Linked DNA regions of Homo sapiens: all the other regions are linked to region 2. The links are contacts of gene promoters, found by promoter capture Hi-C in blood cells and fetal thymus (Javierre and others, 2016). All regions are on one chromosome and are shown on one strand. Each heading gives the region's core, a stretch centred on a gene start or on the middle of the fragment in contact. The rest is flanking DNA. Distances are from core to core; before and after follow the strand shown.

Evidence for each region. Contacts are between HindIII fragments. The CHiCAGO score rates a contact against its expected background, and 5 or more counts as called.
Region 1: a fragment that was not itself captured here is called in contact with the fragment with the promoter of DPAGT1 in region 2 in 2 of 17 cell types (endothelial precursors and megakaryocytes); the score reaches 6.6 in endothelial precursors.
Region 3: the fragment with the promoter of MCAM here is called in contact with the fragment with the promoter of DPAGT1 in region 2 in 15 of 17 cell types (endothelial precursors, megakaryocytes, fetal thymus and 12 more); the score reaches 18.4 in endothelial precursors.
Region 4: a fragment that was not itself captured here is called in contact with the fragment with the promoter of DPAGT1 in region 2 in 1 of 17 cell types (megakaryocytes); the score reaches 5.0 in megakaryocytes.
Region 5: the fragment with the promoter of RNF26 here is called in contact with the fragment with the promoter of DPAGT1 in region 2 in 13 of 17 cell types (megakaryocytes, endothelial precursors, naive CD4 T cells and 10 more); the score reaches 13.7 in megakaryocytes.

What each region holds. Positions count from the first base shown.
Region 1 is chr11:119,296,733-119,299,432 of GRCh38, reverse strand. It overlaps CBL (Cbl proto-oncogene), which reads right to left. Exons shown (of 16, transcript NM_005188.4): 13 at 2,399-2,515; 14 at 1,952-2,049; 15 at 893-1,075. Among named protein-coding and RNA genes, the nearest start is that of MIR6756, 15 kb to the left of the region's middle. The HindIII fragment of the contact is 3,184 bases long and covers 1-2,700 here.
Region 2 is chr11:119,100,603-119,103,302 of GRCh38, reverse strand. DPAGT1 (dolichyl-phosphate N-acetylglucosaminephosphotransferase 1) reads left to right here and starts at 1,450. Exons shown (of 9, transcript NM_001382.4): 1 at 1,450-1,808; 2 at 2,165-2,285; 3 at 2,460-2,673. The coding sequence starts at 1,648. It also overlaps a transcript of C2CD2L not described here. RefSeq lists enhancers at 182-894, 1,106-1,415, 598-1,797, 1,609-2,322. The HindIII fragment of the contact is 9,998 bases long and covers 1,082-2,700 here.
Region 3 is chr11:119,315,760-119,318,459 of GRCh38, reverse strand. It overlaps MCAM (melanoma cell adhesion molecule), which reads left to right and starts at 1,330. Exons shown (of 16, transcript NM_006500.3): 1 at 1,330-1,425. The coding sequence starts at 1,359. RefSeq lists a silencer at 992-1,051 and an enhancer at 2,644-2,700. The HindIII fragment of the contact is 17,882 bases long and covers 1-2,700 here.
Region 4 is chr11:119,278,592-119,281,291 of GRCh38, reverse strand. It overlaps CBL (Cbl proto-oncogene), which reads right to left. Exons shown (of 16, transcript NM_005188.4): 9 at 2,579-2,700. Among named protein-coding and RNA genes, the nearest start is that of MIR6756, 33 kb to the left of the region's middle. The HindIII fragment of the contact is 3,919 bases long and covers 1-2,700 here.
Region 5 is chr11:119,333,116-119,335,815 of GRCh38, reverse strand. RNF26 (ring finger protein 26) reads right to left here and starts at 1,289. Exons shown (of 1, transcript NM_032015.5): 1 at 1-1,289. The coding sequence starts at 693. RefSeq lists an enhancer at 756-1,647. The HindIII fragment of the contact is 9,565 bases long and covers 1-2,700 here.

The DNA.
Region 1 (2,700 bases), core at 88-2,587, 200 kb before region 2:
TAAAAATGTGCTAATATCAAGATATTACTGACTTCCTGTAAACTGGGTACATGTGCTCTTCAGTCACAAGGCTGGGTTTTACAGGTTCAAGGGTTTTAAGATATAGCCTCCTCATCACAATAAAAACAACCTTCTAAATATACCATGCACCTGTCCTATGAACAATAACCACTGCAATCATAAACATCTGCATCATGCTTTACACTAAGCAACATGTTTGTGCACATGTAATTGTCTGTTTTAATTCTGAGGGGACCAAAGATACTAAACTTCGCCTTCTACAAATAAGGAAAAAGACAGATATAAGTTGCAATGAAGAAGCATTAGCCAAGGCTGAGTGGGGGACATTGCTCGTCTGGGCAAGCGAAGGCTGTATTCTTTTTCACCAGCTGTCTGTCCTGAAGGCTGTCTTCAATTCCAAAGTGACAGCAACTCTGGCTGCTGCCCTACCAGGCAGCCACAGGTGCAAGAAGAGCAGCCTCCAGTAGTCAAGGCCCAACATGGGCTGGCTCCAGGCCCATTCAGTGTGTGTTCCAGAGCTAGCATGCCTTCTTTCCAATGGAACAGAGCCCAGGAAAAAGGAATGTGTGCTCTGAGCCATCAAGCCTAATTACCAGTGTCATAAGGCATACTCAGAGAAACTATAAATCCTACCTACCCCTAACATAAGAAGAGCCAGAGTTTAAGGAATGACCTCTTTTCTAAGTCTGCAAAAATCCTAAAGAGTCTGACTACAGTCTAACTTCCTAACTTGGGACTTTCCTCCCATTTAGACATAATGTTTAGCCTACATACTGACTTACTGTCACCAGAGAAGGTCATCTCCCTTTCAATATAAACATACAGGCCACACTGCCATTCAGGACAAACCCAAAGTAGTCTGGAGACTCACTTGTTGTAGGATCACCATCCAGAGACAACCAGCCAAAGGAGGAGCTGGCATTAGAGATATCTGAGAGAGTTCGGCGGGCCAGCACGGCCGGCACAGGTGGCTTTGGGACATCATACCCATCATCCTCATTTTCTGACTCCTCGGGACCAGTGTTGGCATGGGCTGCGGCCAAATTCCCTTCACCTGGAGAAAAATGAGTGATGTTATCTTCTTCTGACGCACTTCATCTTCTAATACATTTCAATACGGGGCAGCCATTCATTTTTACATGTATGCAATCATTTATCTCATTCAACAGTTACTGATTGTCTACTGTGGGCCAAACACCATGTAAACAGAGATAAAAATAGAAAATAAAATCTGCACCAACACTGCAGCTTTCATTTTTGAACATGCCAAAGGTTATTCTTGACAAGGTTAATAGCCACCGATGCCAATGACTCCAGTGTCATCTCAGATCATTCAATAAACATTTCTATCCACATTCCACCTTGGAAGATCAGCAAAGGATCCTGTGAGAGCAGGCTTCTTGAACTTTCAATCTGGTAGGCTAGTTAACATGGGAATTGAGTGTTCACCACCCCCACATAAAAGAATTTCATCAATGCAATGAGAAAAAAAAGGAGCTTACAGGTCCAGAGTATAGAACACAAATGTCTCTAGGCCCTGGAAGGACAAAGAAAAGCACAAAAGGAACCAGCAGTGTGAGTAGGAAATAAAGGATTGGGGATACTTTACTGCCCATGTCAAAGATATTTTGCCAAAGATTACTGAAAATAATTTTCAGCTTTGTCTGGGCGTGGTGGCTCACGCCTGTAATCTCAGCACTTTGGGAGGGGTGGATCACCTGAGGTCAGGAGTTCAAGGCCAGCCTGGCCAACATAGTGAAACCCCGTCTCTACTAAAAATACAAAAATTAGCCGGGCATGGTGGCACGTACCTGTAGTCCCAGCTACAGAAGAATTTTGAGCTTAGATCAAGCTATCTCAATTGCCAAATATTACATGTTCATTCCTATGACATATCAATGATTTTTAAAGTAGCAGAATGGCAACTTACCAAAGGTGCTGCTCTCGGTGATAGATGGCGCCTGGGACTGAATATTATACATTGCTTCATACGTACAGCTATCAATCTGCTGGTCGCAATCACATGCTCTGAACCAGAAGGAAAGTGCCATAATGATCTTTGGAAATAGAACTGTTATCTATAAACTTATGAAGATTCATCTTCTCGTTTTGCCAATATCACTAATAAATGTTAAAGTTGACTCTTGTGGCAAGTTATAGGTGTATGTGTTTTTGAGGTTCTCATGTTGCTGAGAAAACATAAGTGTAATTACCTACAGCTACAAAAGGCTTAAACCATTAAGGGCTAGATTTATCTTTATCTTTCTGCTTTAATCTGACTGGATAACAGTATGTGCAGGTAGCAAGCCAAGCAGGTGAAGGGTGTCAATTACCCACATAAAGGTATAGGGCCCAAAAAGGGTTGTTGTGAACCTACCGTGAACTCTGGGATGTATCCAAAGGCCGTAGAGGCCTGGAAGAGGGAGTCATGTACTCTGTGTCCTCTTCACCCTCACATTGCTCCCCAGGTGGCAGTTTTGGCACAGGAAGAGGTCTGGAAGATGAAGAATAAAAAATAGAAAAAGAAGTAACAAACCAGTAAACTTTGAAGTATAAAATAAATGGCTTAAAAACAGACATAACTCAAATTGAACAGAGCAAAATACATGTCACCTAGGGAACTATTATTTCTGCTGACCAAGACAAGTAATTAGCAAAAGTACACTAACTAAAAATGTC
Region 2 (2,700 bases), core at 201-2,700:
TTGGAGTCCTTTCCCTAACTCACTGGTGGTGACTTCCTCTCTGACAAATGGAAATCATTTGCCGCCTAAGAGCCTGTCGGGGAATGAAAGGTAATAAAGATGCTGGTGAACTGGCTGGGCGTGGTGGCTCACGCCTGTACTCCCAGCATTTTGGGAGGCCAAGGCGGGCAGATCACCTGAGGTCGGGAGTCCCAAACCAGCCTGACCAACATAGGGAAATCCCGTCTCTACTAAAAATACAAAATTAGCCGGGCGTGGTGGCGCATGCCTGTAATTCCAGCTACTGCCTGTAATCCCAGCTACTCGGGAGGCTGAGGCAGGAGAATCTCTTGAACCTGGGAGGTGGAGGTTTCGGTGAGCCGAGATCGCGCCATTGCACTCCAGCCTGGGCAACAAGAGCGAAACTCTGTCTCAAAAAAAAAAAAAAAAAAAAAAAAAAAAAGCTGGTGAATTGTTGTTTGCAGGGGAACAGGCCAAGCAAAATGCACAGCAACCTGCAGGAGGCCAAGCAAAATGCACAGTGACCTACAGGAAGAAACCTGACTGGGAGTTCCTCAGACTCACAGGAAATCAGTTGTGGGTCTGATTCCTCTCCCTCCTCAGCTCTTTCCAGAGCCTCAGCCTGGAAATCTCCATCTCCTCCTTGTGGGAGCTAGGTACAATGCAGTGATCCACGGCCAAGCTGAAGTCTCGAGTTAAATCCAAGACCTGAGGGTACTCCCAATCCCTCAGTGAAGTGCTGCGCTGGGTTGCCGGGCAACTAACTGCTACAGCTGGGGCAGAAGGTGGGTGGGATGCTGAGAAAAAAATACCAGAATCGAGGACAAGAAAAACAGAGTGGGAGGGGCTTTTCAAGGATCTACGCTTTAGAATTTACACCATCCTTCCAAATCGTAGCTTTGTTTCCGGGAACTGAGTTGTGTTTACCTTGGCTTCCGACTATGTTGGCAACAGGTTTCCTGCAAGAAACAGGCGCGTCTCCACACCCTCGTCCCTCCTCCCCACCCCCTGCCTTTCAATAGCCATCTTCCTGGAGCCGGAGGCATCCCAGATTAAGGGAGAGGTACGGGCCCTTTAAGCTTGACCTATGGAGGCGGACGGAGCTAAAACTGACGTGGAACCGGAATGTGAGCGGTGTCAGACACGTGGTACAAGGAGGCATTCATCTTGGAACCGGGCAATTGGCATTTCCGCTCTGGGTAGTACATCTTTAACATAATGTTAGGGAAGTATCCGTTCTTGGCTGCCTTTCTTTAATTGCGTTTCCAGTACTCTCTCGGTGATTCTACTCTTGAACATAGGATGAAATTTGGAATCACACTTCTCTTCCACTTCCATCCCCACCCTCTAATGCCCATATTAAAAATGGCGGCCGCCGCCTTCCGCAGTAATGGTTGTTCAGCGAACAAGATCCGGGCGGAAACAGTAGATAGGCGGGTGCAGCGGGGCAGAACATAGGTTGCCTTAGAGAGGTTCCCCGGTGTCCCGACGGCGGCTCAAGTCAGAGTTGCTGGGTTTTGCTCAGATTGGTGTGGGAAGAGCCTGCCTGTGGGGAGCGGCCACTCCATACTGCTGAGGCCTCAGGACTGCTGCTCAGCTTGCCCGTTACCTGAAGAGGCGGCGGAGCCGGGCCCCTGACCGGTCACCATGTGGGCCTTCTCGGAATTGCCCATGCCGCTGCTGATCAATTTGATCGTCTCGCTGCTGGGATTTGTGGCCACAGTCACCCTCATCCCGGCCTTCCGGGGCCACTTCATTGCTGCGCGCCTCTGTGGTCAGGACCTCAACAAAACCAGCCGACAGCAGATGTGAGCAGCGGCACACGGGTCCGGGCAGGGGGCAAGGGCTAAGGAAGGAGTGGCTAGGGCAGGGGCGGGAACCGGGGTGCTTGACCACACGTGAAGACTCAGAACTAACCCAGGCAGCCTGGAACTCGGAGAGGTGATGAGCAGAACTTACTCGCATTGGGGAAAGGATGGGTAGGGACCCTTGGGTATATCTGGGACTCTGGCAGTGGTGCTTTCCTCCCTCCGCCCCCCTCACCACTTACCAGAATAAAAAACCGGGAATGAGAAGACCACTTTGGGTTACTGTAACACCTGCACTAGTGAGTGACCACGCCCCCTTTCCTCTTCCCCCTCGCCCCCTTGCTGCTGGGCCACAGCCCAGAATCCCAGGGAGTGATCAGCGGTGCTGTTTTCCTTATCATCCTCTTCTGCTTCATCCCTTTCCCCTTCCTGAACTGCTTTGTGAAGGAGCAGTGTAAGGCATTCCCCCACCATGAAGTAAGTGGGTTCGTGGGGGTGATTGCCTGTGGCTGGGACCTGGGAGGTACCTGAGAGAACTGGGGTTATTTGGGCTTGTGGGGAGGGGCTAAGAAATTATCAGAAAAGACAGGAATTCTTAAAAGGTGGAATGGGAGCAGGCTTGAGTCATGGACCTGCCCGAGCCTCCCCCAGTTTGTGGCCCTGATAGGTGCCCTCCTTGCCATCTGCTGCATGATCTTCCTGGGCTTTGCGGATGATGTACTGAATCTGCGCTGGCGCCATAAGCTGCTGCTACCTACAGCTGCCTCACTACCTCTCCTCATGGTCTATTTCACCAACTTTGGCAACACGACCATTGTGGTGCCCAAGCCCTTCCGCCCGATACTTGGCCTGCATCTGGACTTGGGTAGGTAGTCCTACCACTGCTGCCCCT
Region 3 (2,700 bases), core at 81-2,580, 220 kb before region 2:
AAAGACAAGCCTGGTGTGGTTTTCCAGTCATCTCTGCGTCATCAAAACGCCACCCCGGAGCATGCTCTCAAGTCACCTGGCCATCTCCAGGGTTTGCTGGCTCACCCTCCACCTCCCCCAGCGAGCAAAGGGGTGGCCCCGCTGGGCAACAGACCTCTACCCAAATCCAGGCCCCTATTTGGCACTCCCTGGTGGAGGCGCGCCAGCAGATGTGGACCCCTTTTCTGAGGCCAGGCTGCTGGGGTCAGAGTGAGGCAAGAGCACCTCCCCCTCCCTAGAGCCTTAGTTCAAGAGGCCAGAAGACCCAGGGAGAAGCCGGCGTTTTGGGAGAAGGGGAGCTGCAGAGCTCCCCACCCAAGCAGGTCTGATTTGATTCTTCCCTCAGCTATGGACCCACAATCAATAGGGCTGGGGAAGACATGGGGTGGGGGAAGATCAGCGCTGCCGGGATCCTTTCAATCATCAGGAACAGCAACAGGTTTGCAGGGTCAGGCTGGGGACCCTCGCCCATTAACTCTTTCTTCTCCCTGTTTCTTTCTCTTAGGTGAGGGGAAACTGAGTTCCAGGGTAGGCTCCAGAGTGAAGAGGGAAGAAACATGATTCTCAAGGCCCAGGTCTGGACAAGTGTGAACACCTTGGGCCTGCGAATTCAGCCCCCTCCTTCCTTTCTCTGGTCAAAGGCTAGACTTGCAGGAGCTTGCGTTTGAAGGGACAGCCCAGAAGGCATCGTCTGCACTCCCCATACAGGTACTTCTGGGTCTGTGGGACTGGCGCAGGGTTCTTCTCCCAAAGCTGCCAGCACTGAGGCTGAGGCAGTGTCAGGCCGGCGGCAGCGGCAGTGGTGCAATCGTTCTGGGAAGCGATAGAGGCCGGCCTGAATTCTCTGTGGCAAGGGAGGGGAGCCCAAGTGGGAGGCCCCTTGGGGACACCGAGGACCAGGTCCGCTACTGCTCCTCCCCCAGGAGGTCCCCTAGGGGCTACATTGGCTGGCAGGGGCTGAGCAGCGGTGAGCCTGGCTGGCTTCGACCCGGGGCGACTCCGGGCATCCGGGACAGCTTCTCCTCGCTGCCACCTCGGCCAGTCAGACCCCGAGACACCTGTCACTACCCCCTCAGCCTTCCCAAGCCAGGAGCCTGGGAGTCCGGCTCTGGCCTACCTCCGGCAGCGCTCCTAGGCGCAGCTCCCGGGCTGGCGGCGCCGGGGCCCGCCCCCTAGGGCTGCGGCGCGCGGGGCGGGGGCTGGGGGCTGCGCGGGGCGGGGCGGGCCCGGGCGCTCCGGGCCCCCTCCCCCGCCCCCCTGACGTCAGCCCCCGGCAGCCTCGAGCTGCTCACTTGGCTCTCGCCCTCCGGCCGGGAAGCATGGGGCTTCCCAGGCTGGTCTGCGCCTTCTTGCTCGCCGCCTGCTGCTGCTGTCCTCGCGTCGCGGGTGAGTTCGCTCGCAGGGGGGCCGCGCCCCGGCTAGGGGTCTGCGGTGGAGCGTGCCAGGGAGCAGAGCCAGCGGCGCGGCGGGGTCGGGGCGTTGCGTCTGGGAGGACGAGCCTCCTCCCTGGGTCCCCGATCCCCGGGCGCCTTGCGCGCGAGCAACTCTTCTTTGCAGCCAGTTTGCAGCCGGGATTCTAGAGTATCCCGGGAGCAGCACTCGGAAGGCGGGGAGGAGGCTGCTTCTGGGAACGAGAAGGGGTGGAGCTCAGCCTTTCGGGGTGCTGGGGGGTGGGTGGTCCCTGAGGTGCTCACTCTGGGGGCCCGCAATTGAAGCCGGGCAGGAGGCGCAGCTGGGGCGCATCCTCAAAGCCTGAATTCCGCGCCCGCCTGTTGCTGGAAAAGGCAGCTTCCTTCGCTGGAGGGGGTGCGCCGACCCACCCCTTCCCCCTTCTGCCTGGGCATCACGCCAGGCTGGAGGTGAGCGAGAGCGGGAGGTTCGGCGGCTCCCGCCCGAGCTGGGCGTTGGCAGGGGTTGCGGGGCGGTGTGGGTCGCCTCGCGCCTCCCCGAGTGATGGGATCATAGGGGACAGAGATGAGGGATGGAGGATTCCCATACTGGAAGCGCCCGCTGGCTTATTTTGGGGACCACATTCAGGTGGGAAGTGCGCCCGGGCACCTCGGAGCGTTTCTCCGGATCCGCCTGGTAGCAGGGCGCTCTCGGGTCCACGCTGCCCTTGTATGGCCCGCAGCGGTGTCGCGTGTTTCTCTTGGCTCCCATTCCGCCGTCCCAGCCGCTGTCCGGCTGGGGAAGGGGAGGGCTAGGCAATACCCAGCTCGCTGGCCTCATGCCCAGTGCCAACCATGTCCCTGGGGTATTCCAGGCTACTGCCTCCCAGGCTGACTTTATTTCTGGGGAAAGGGCTAAATCGGGCTCCACAGTTGCAGCCGGTCCAGCTCCACCCTGCCCTGCTCTTCTAGCTCTGGGAGGAGTCAGGGGTCTGAGGCTCTGGGTTGGAGACCCCACCTTCCACCTGCCCTCCTTGTCCGAGAGCCAAGGTAACAACCCAGGCATCCCAGAGCCCAGGCAGATGGTGTCGAGTGACATCACCTCCTCACAGGGCTGGCAGCACGCTGGCACCACTGACGTCACTCCTGCCCACTGCCTGGCCCTTGCCCTGACCCCTGGGGGAGACTCTGACCTCTCCATCCTTACCAGCTACCTAGGGTGGGGTCCGCGGGTGTGTGCGGAGTGTTCATGGAGGTGCTGCTGAGGGAGCAT
Region 4 (2,700 bases), core at 199-2,698, 180 kb before region 2:
GCTACTTTAAGGACATAAACAAAGAAGCAAAAAAGAGGAAAACATGGGAACCAAGGTACTCCAACAGAGGAGAGGCAATGAAGTCCCATGAGGATGGCGAGGGGACACCTCAGGGTGACAAGTAGTGTGGCACAGGAGTAACTGGAGCAGACTGGAGCGGAACACAGATGACTCCTATTTCCTACAAAGCAGTACACGGTATCACATACTACTATACTAACAGATTTTATTTCATAGAAACTATATTGAGAGGATGTTTGAGAGTATGATATGATTTGGTAGTGACAGGTACAAACTGAAAACTAAGAAAATAAAAATAATTATACCAGGAAAAGCAGAAAGTTGTATAAGAAAGCAAAAGTAATTATTGTATAGTATGTTACTTGGCACAGTAAGGAGTGAAATCATGTAAACACTAGTACTAAGCCAAATTCAAATAACTGTAGTGGGAGGATATGGAGTAGGGAGGAGGGAGATATAAGAGACCTAAACCCTCTCCCACAACATCTGAGGTGAAGAGATCAAGAATCCAGAAAAAGCAGTATAAGCACATGGTTAAGAAACACAGAGGTAGTAAACAGTTTCAAGAATTAAAACTCTGAACGAGGGGACAGAGAGGTGCTGGAGGGGGCAGAGGCAGGGAACCAATGTTTTTGTAAGTTTTTTTTAGCAATTCTTTTAAACCTTAAAAAAAATCCATGTGCATTCACCAACTATAAGTAGATTCAGTATATTAAAAAAAATCAAAATAAAACAACAAACAACATCTACCAGGATGTGAAGAAACAGGCATTCTCATTCTTTTCCATACCTTCAAGAGTGATTTCAAGACCAAAAAAGGGGGATAAACTTTAATAACTAACCAAAAGTTAAATATTTTCACTCAAATTATTTTACTCATACAAAATATATAATGAACTATAAAGTACAAGGAATAAAACATCCATATACTTACCTACCATCCAGCTAAAAAACAAAATACCATTATCACTGTGATATTCCCATAAGCCCCTCTGTTAATTATAACCTCCCCTCTATCACAGTTGAAATACACACTCCCTTATGCAGCAATCCCACTGCTAGCCTAGACAGACTTGTAAAAGCAGGCCAATATACGTAAGCCTGCAAACAATATGAATGTTCATTAAAAGGAAGACAAAATAAATTATGGAATGGCCAAATGACAAAATACATGAGGCTGGTTTTTTTTCTGTTTACATTTCTACATGGCTAGGGAAAGTGTGTTCCTTTACTTCTTTCCTCTAAACTCCTATCCGACTTATAGTGTACCCAACAATTTGGAACAATGTTCACTGTCTGCCTTGTGTTGAAGTGTTTCACCTGCACATATGTCCTTTTCCTAAATAAAACAATTAGCTCCTTGAAAGCCTTGTCTTAGACTTCTTATCCCATATAGCACTCAACCATCTAGCACAACAAACACTTTGAAAAAGTAATATGCATTAATTGTAAAAAATTCAAATATTCCACAGAATTTAAGTGCTCTGAATTCCTATCCTCAGAAATAACAGTGATTAGTTTGGTATGTAGTCATCCAGTTTTTCTACGTATATGCTTAAAAAAATTTTTTTACAGAAATAAGTCACACTACACATTGTATACAATTACTATTTATTTATGAGACAGGGTCTCGCTCTGTCACCCAACCTAGAGTGCAGTGGTACAATCACAACTCACTCCCGCCTTGAATTCCTGGGATCAAGCAATCCTCCCGTCTCAGTCTCCAGACTAGTTAGAACTACAGGCGTACACCATCATGCCCAGCTATTTTTTTTTTTAGGGGGGGGCATGGGGGCAGTGGTGGTAAAGATACGGTCTTGCTATGTCGAATTGCTGGGCTCAACTGATCCTCCAGCCTTGGCCTCCAGAGTAGTTAGAACTACAGGTGCACAACACCATACCCAGCTTTTTTTTGTTTTGTTTTGGAGTCAGGGGTAGAGATAGGGTCTCACTATATTGCCAAGGCTGGCCTCAAACTGGGCTCAACTGATCCTCCAGCCTCAACGTCCCAAAGTACTGGGATTATAGGCATGAGCTATGGGCATGCCCAGCCCCAACCTTCTAATGCCAAGACTCCATTAAAATAAAAAAAAAAAAAGGGAACAGAACTTATTCTAGTTGCATTAGCAAAAGAGGGTCCAGTTCTTTTATTTCTCCCTCATATTCTCCACCAACAGATATGAATAAAGTCTTAGTCCTAAAAAATACAGACAGTAAGAACATGGGCCTTAAGCTGGAATGCCTGGTCATAGATGCAGCTCACAGATGCTTCAACCTACTAGCTGTGTGGTCTTCGGCAAATTCCTTAACCTCTTTGTGCCTCAGTTTCTTCATCTGTTAAATAAGGATAATAGTAGTATGTACTCATAGGGCTGTAGTAAAGATTGAGTAAAAAACAAGTAAAGTGCTTAACACAATATCTGTCATATAGTAAATGCTCAATAAATATTAGCTATTAATACTACCTATCATTGTAGTTTGGATATCGTTAAGTGTTTTACGGCTTTAGAAGACAACTCACAATGGATTTTGCCAGTCTCCTAAACTGCCATCTTACCTTGGCACCAGCCAATTCCTTCATCATGAAGAGAGTATCATCAGCTCGTTCATCATCATCATCATCATAATTTGGGGAGGGAGCTCCCTCTGCTCCTTGCCTCAACAGGCTGCCACTCCCTC
Region 5 (2,700 bases), core at 40-2,539, 230 kb before region 2:
CAAGCCAGTGAGATTGACAAGCACAAAGCTGGCCAGGAGGCGGGCAGCTGAGGCCAGCAGCTCCAGGGCTAGTTGGCAGGGTGTCCAAAGGAGGATGGCCATGGCCACAGCACTGCTGGAAATGTGGGCTAGGAAGGCAGCCACTACGTCCGTCATCCTCCACAGAGGCCCGGTCACTGCATCCCACAGGGCCAGCACCAGGGAAAAGAGGTTCTGAGTGCCGATGAGGCAGATGTTGACCAGGCTGTTGATCACATAAGCCACCAGGCTCATGGCAATGGCACAGATGTCACAGGCCTGGCGCAGCAAAGCATGGCCACTGGAGACCACATTGAGGACGCCCCGGTGCAGTATCTCCCTGCTCCGCAGTGCCCCATGAGAGGCCAGGTGCCCCAGGAGCTTTAGGCTCTCTAGGCCAGAGCAGCAGCTATACAGCAGAGTACACAAGGCCTGCAAGCCCCCACATGTGAACCGGACCACGGCTTCGATCAAGGCCAGCAATGAAAGCAAGACTCCGCGGCCCAAGTGCAGAAGACTAGTCAGTACCGTGTGCGGCAGGTTGTAGACGAAGGCCAGGAGCCAGGCCAGGGAAGCCAGGAGGGAGGACACCAGCAGGAAGTTGAGGTCCAACACCAAGGTCAGCACGTCCAGCACCAGGCCCAACCCATTCACTACCAGGTACACTGCCTCCATGATAGGGCTATGGAAGTTAGTCCAAAACAAAGTCTGGCTCCTCGGTTGGGGGGTTGTCAAGGTTGTCAATATTTTAGGGGGTCTGGGATTAATTTGGAAGGAAAATGAGCAGTCTCCAACCCAGGGGGTACCAAGAATCTGAGGAAGAAGTGGGTAAGACGGAAGTGGAGTCTTGGTAGAGGGAAAGGTGGCCAGGTGCCAGTCCAAGAGTCCAGGTTTTGAAGATGGGCTGTTTGGGAGGGAAGAGGCCAAACATCTCTAAAGCGAAGGCGAGCCCAGGCCGTAGGAGCGACCTCAGCTTTGGATGCCTGGTGTGGCGAACCACGGCCGGGCAACGGGTCAGACCGGGAGGAGACGAGGAACGGATGGAATGGGATCGGATCGGATCGGGTCGCGTCGGGTCGGGCCGGGGCCGGGTGGGGTCGATGTAAGCTGGGCGCAGGCTCTCAGTCCAGCTACGCAGGTGCCCCTGTCCCCGCCCGGCCCCCGTCTTCCCGCTAGCGGCGCTTTGCACCCAAAAGGGGAGTGGGAGAGGCAGCCAGCTTCAGCAAACCCCAAGCGCAGCCCCTACTCCGCTGGGCGCCGCCATCTTGTGTGCAAAGGGGTGGAGCCAGAGGCGTGACGAGGAGGGAGGGACGACAAACTCCAGCCAATCGGTGAAGGCCAACCACAAAAACGTCGATCACTCATTGGTCCGTTTGAATGGCGCCCGAACGTATTTACTTTCCAAAGGGAAGGAGAGGCGACAGATTAAATCCCCTCCCCCTTTAGGCGGGGATTGGTTCGTTGGCGGGCAGCGTCGAAATACGCTCTCCTAGCCCCACCCTCTAAAAGAGCAGGGTCTTGGACTCCCCTCAATTTGGGAGCTGTTCTTTCTCCCGGCCTCTGAACGCGAGGTTTTTTTTTTGGCTTGGGTCGGAGGTCACTGCCTCTGGGCTGGGCTTTGGAATAGCACCGCCTTCGCAGCCTGCCCAGATCCGTCTCCTCATTCTCTTCTATTTATTCATCTATTCTATCATTTATTGAACTCCTACAGTGCATTGAGGATACAAAAAAATTTTAAGACAGTGCCTGCTGTTCACAAGGGAAAGCAGATTATTACAGGGGATTCCCAAACTGCTATTCCAAACTTTCCTCACCAGGTTTTTCAACATCTCGGAAGATTACTTCATTGTCATTGAGAAAAAGGGGCTACAGATTTAGAAACCGCTCAGCTTCCTACCCTGGGCCTTCCTACCCTAGAGTGCAGTGGCGCGATCTCGGCTCACTGCAACCTCTGCCTCCCGGGTTCAAGCGATTCTCCTGCCTCAGCCTCCCGGGTAGTACAGGTGCCCACCACCTCACCCGGCTAATTTTTGTATTTTTAGTAGAGACGAGGTTTCACCATGTTGGCCAGGCTGGCCTCGAACTCCTGAACCTCGTGATCCACCCGCCTCGGCCTCCCAAAGTGCTGAGATTACAGGCGTGAGCCACCAAGCCCGGCCCTGCCCTTTTCTTTAATACTCAAACAATAGTCAAAATATATTTGAAACCCCATCCCAAATATATTGGGAATCCTGGCGTTTTCTACTAACTCCAAGGATGCTTAGCAGACTCCTAGTGGACTTATCTTTCCCCTGGTCACCTTTGCTGAATTTCCTACTTGAGTTGAATTCTCCATCTCCACTCCTGGGCTCCTGAAAGTGTCCGTCCTCCTTCAGTCTGCCCTGAACACTGCCTCAGAGTCCTTCATTCTCCAAAGCATCACTGATAAGAAGCTGAGGTGTGCAGCAAACCTTTACTGAGGCCTTGGGATCGTGGTAGGGGTACGCTATAGTGCAGAGGAAGGACTGCAGTCGCTGAAACTCCTCTGGCTTCTTCCTACCCTTTCTCTCTCCCTGCTCTCAGGCCCTGGCCAGGTTATGGTTTGTTGTGTTGTGATGTGTTGCTGATGTTTTTATTTTCCTACTCGCATCCTCCCGCCAGTGTCAAATCTTGGAGAATGTGCCCACCTCCCTTTCAAGACAG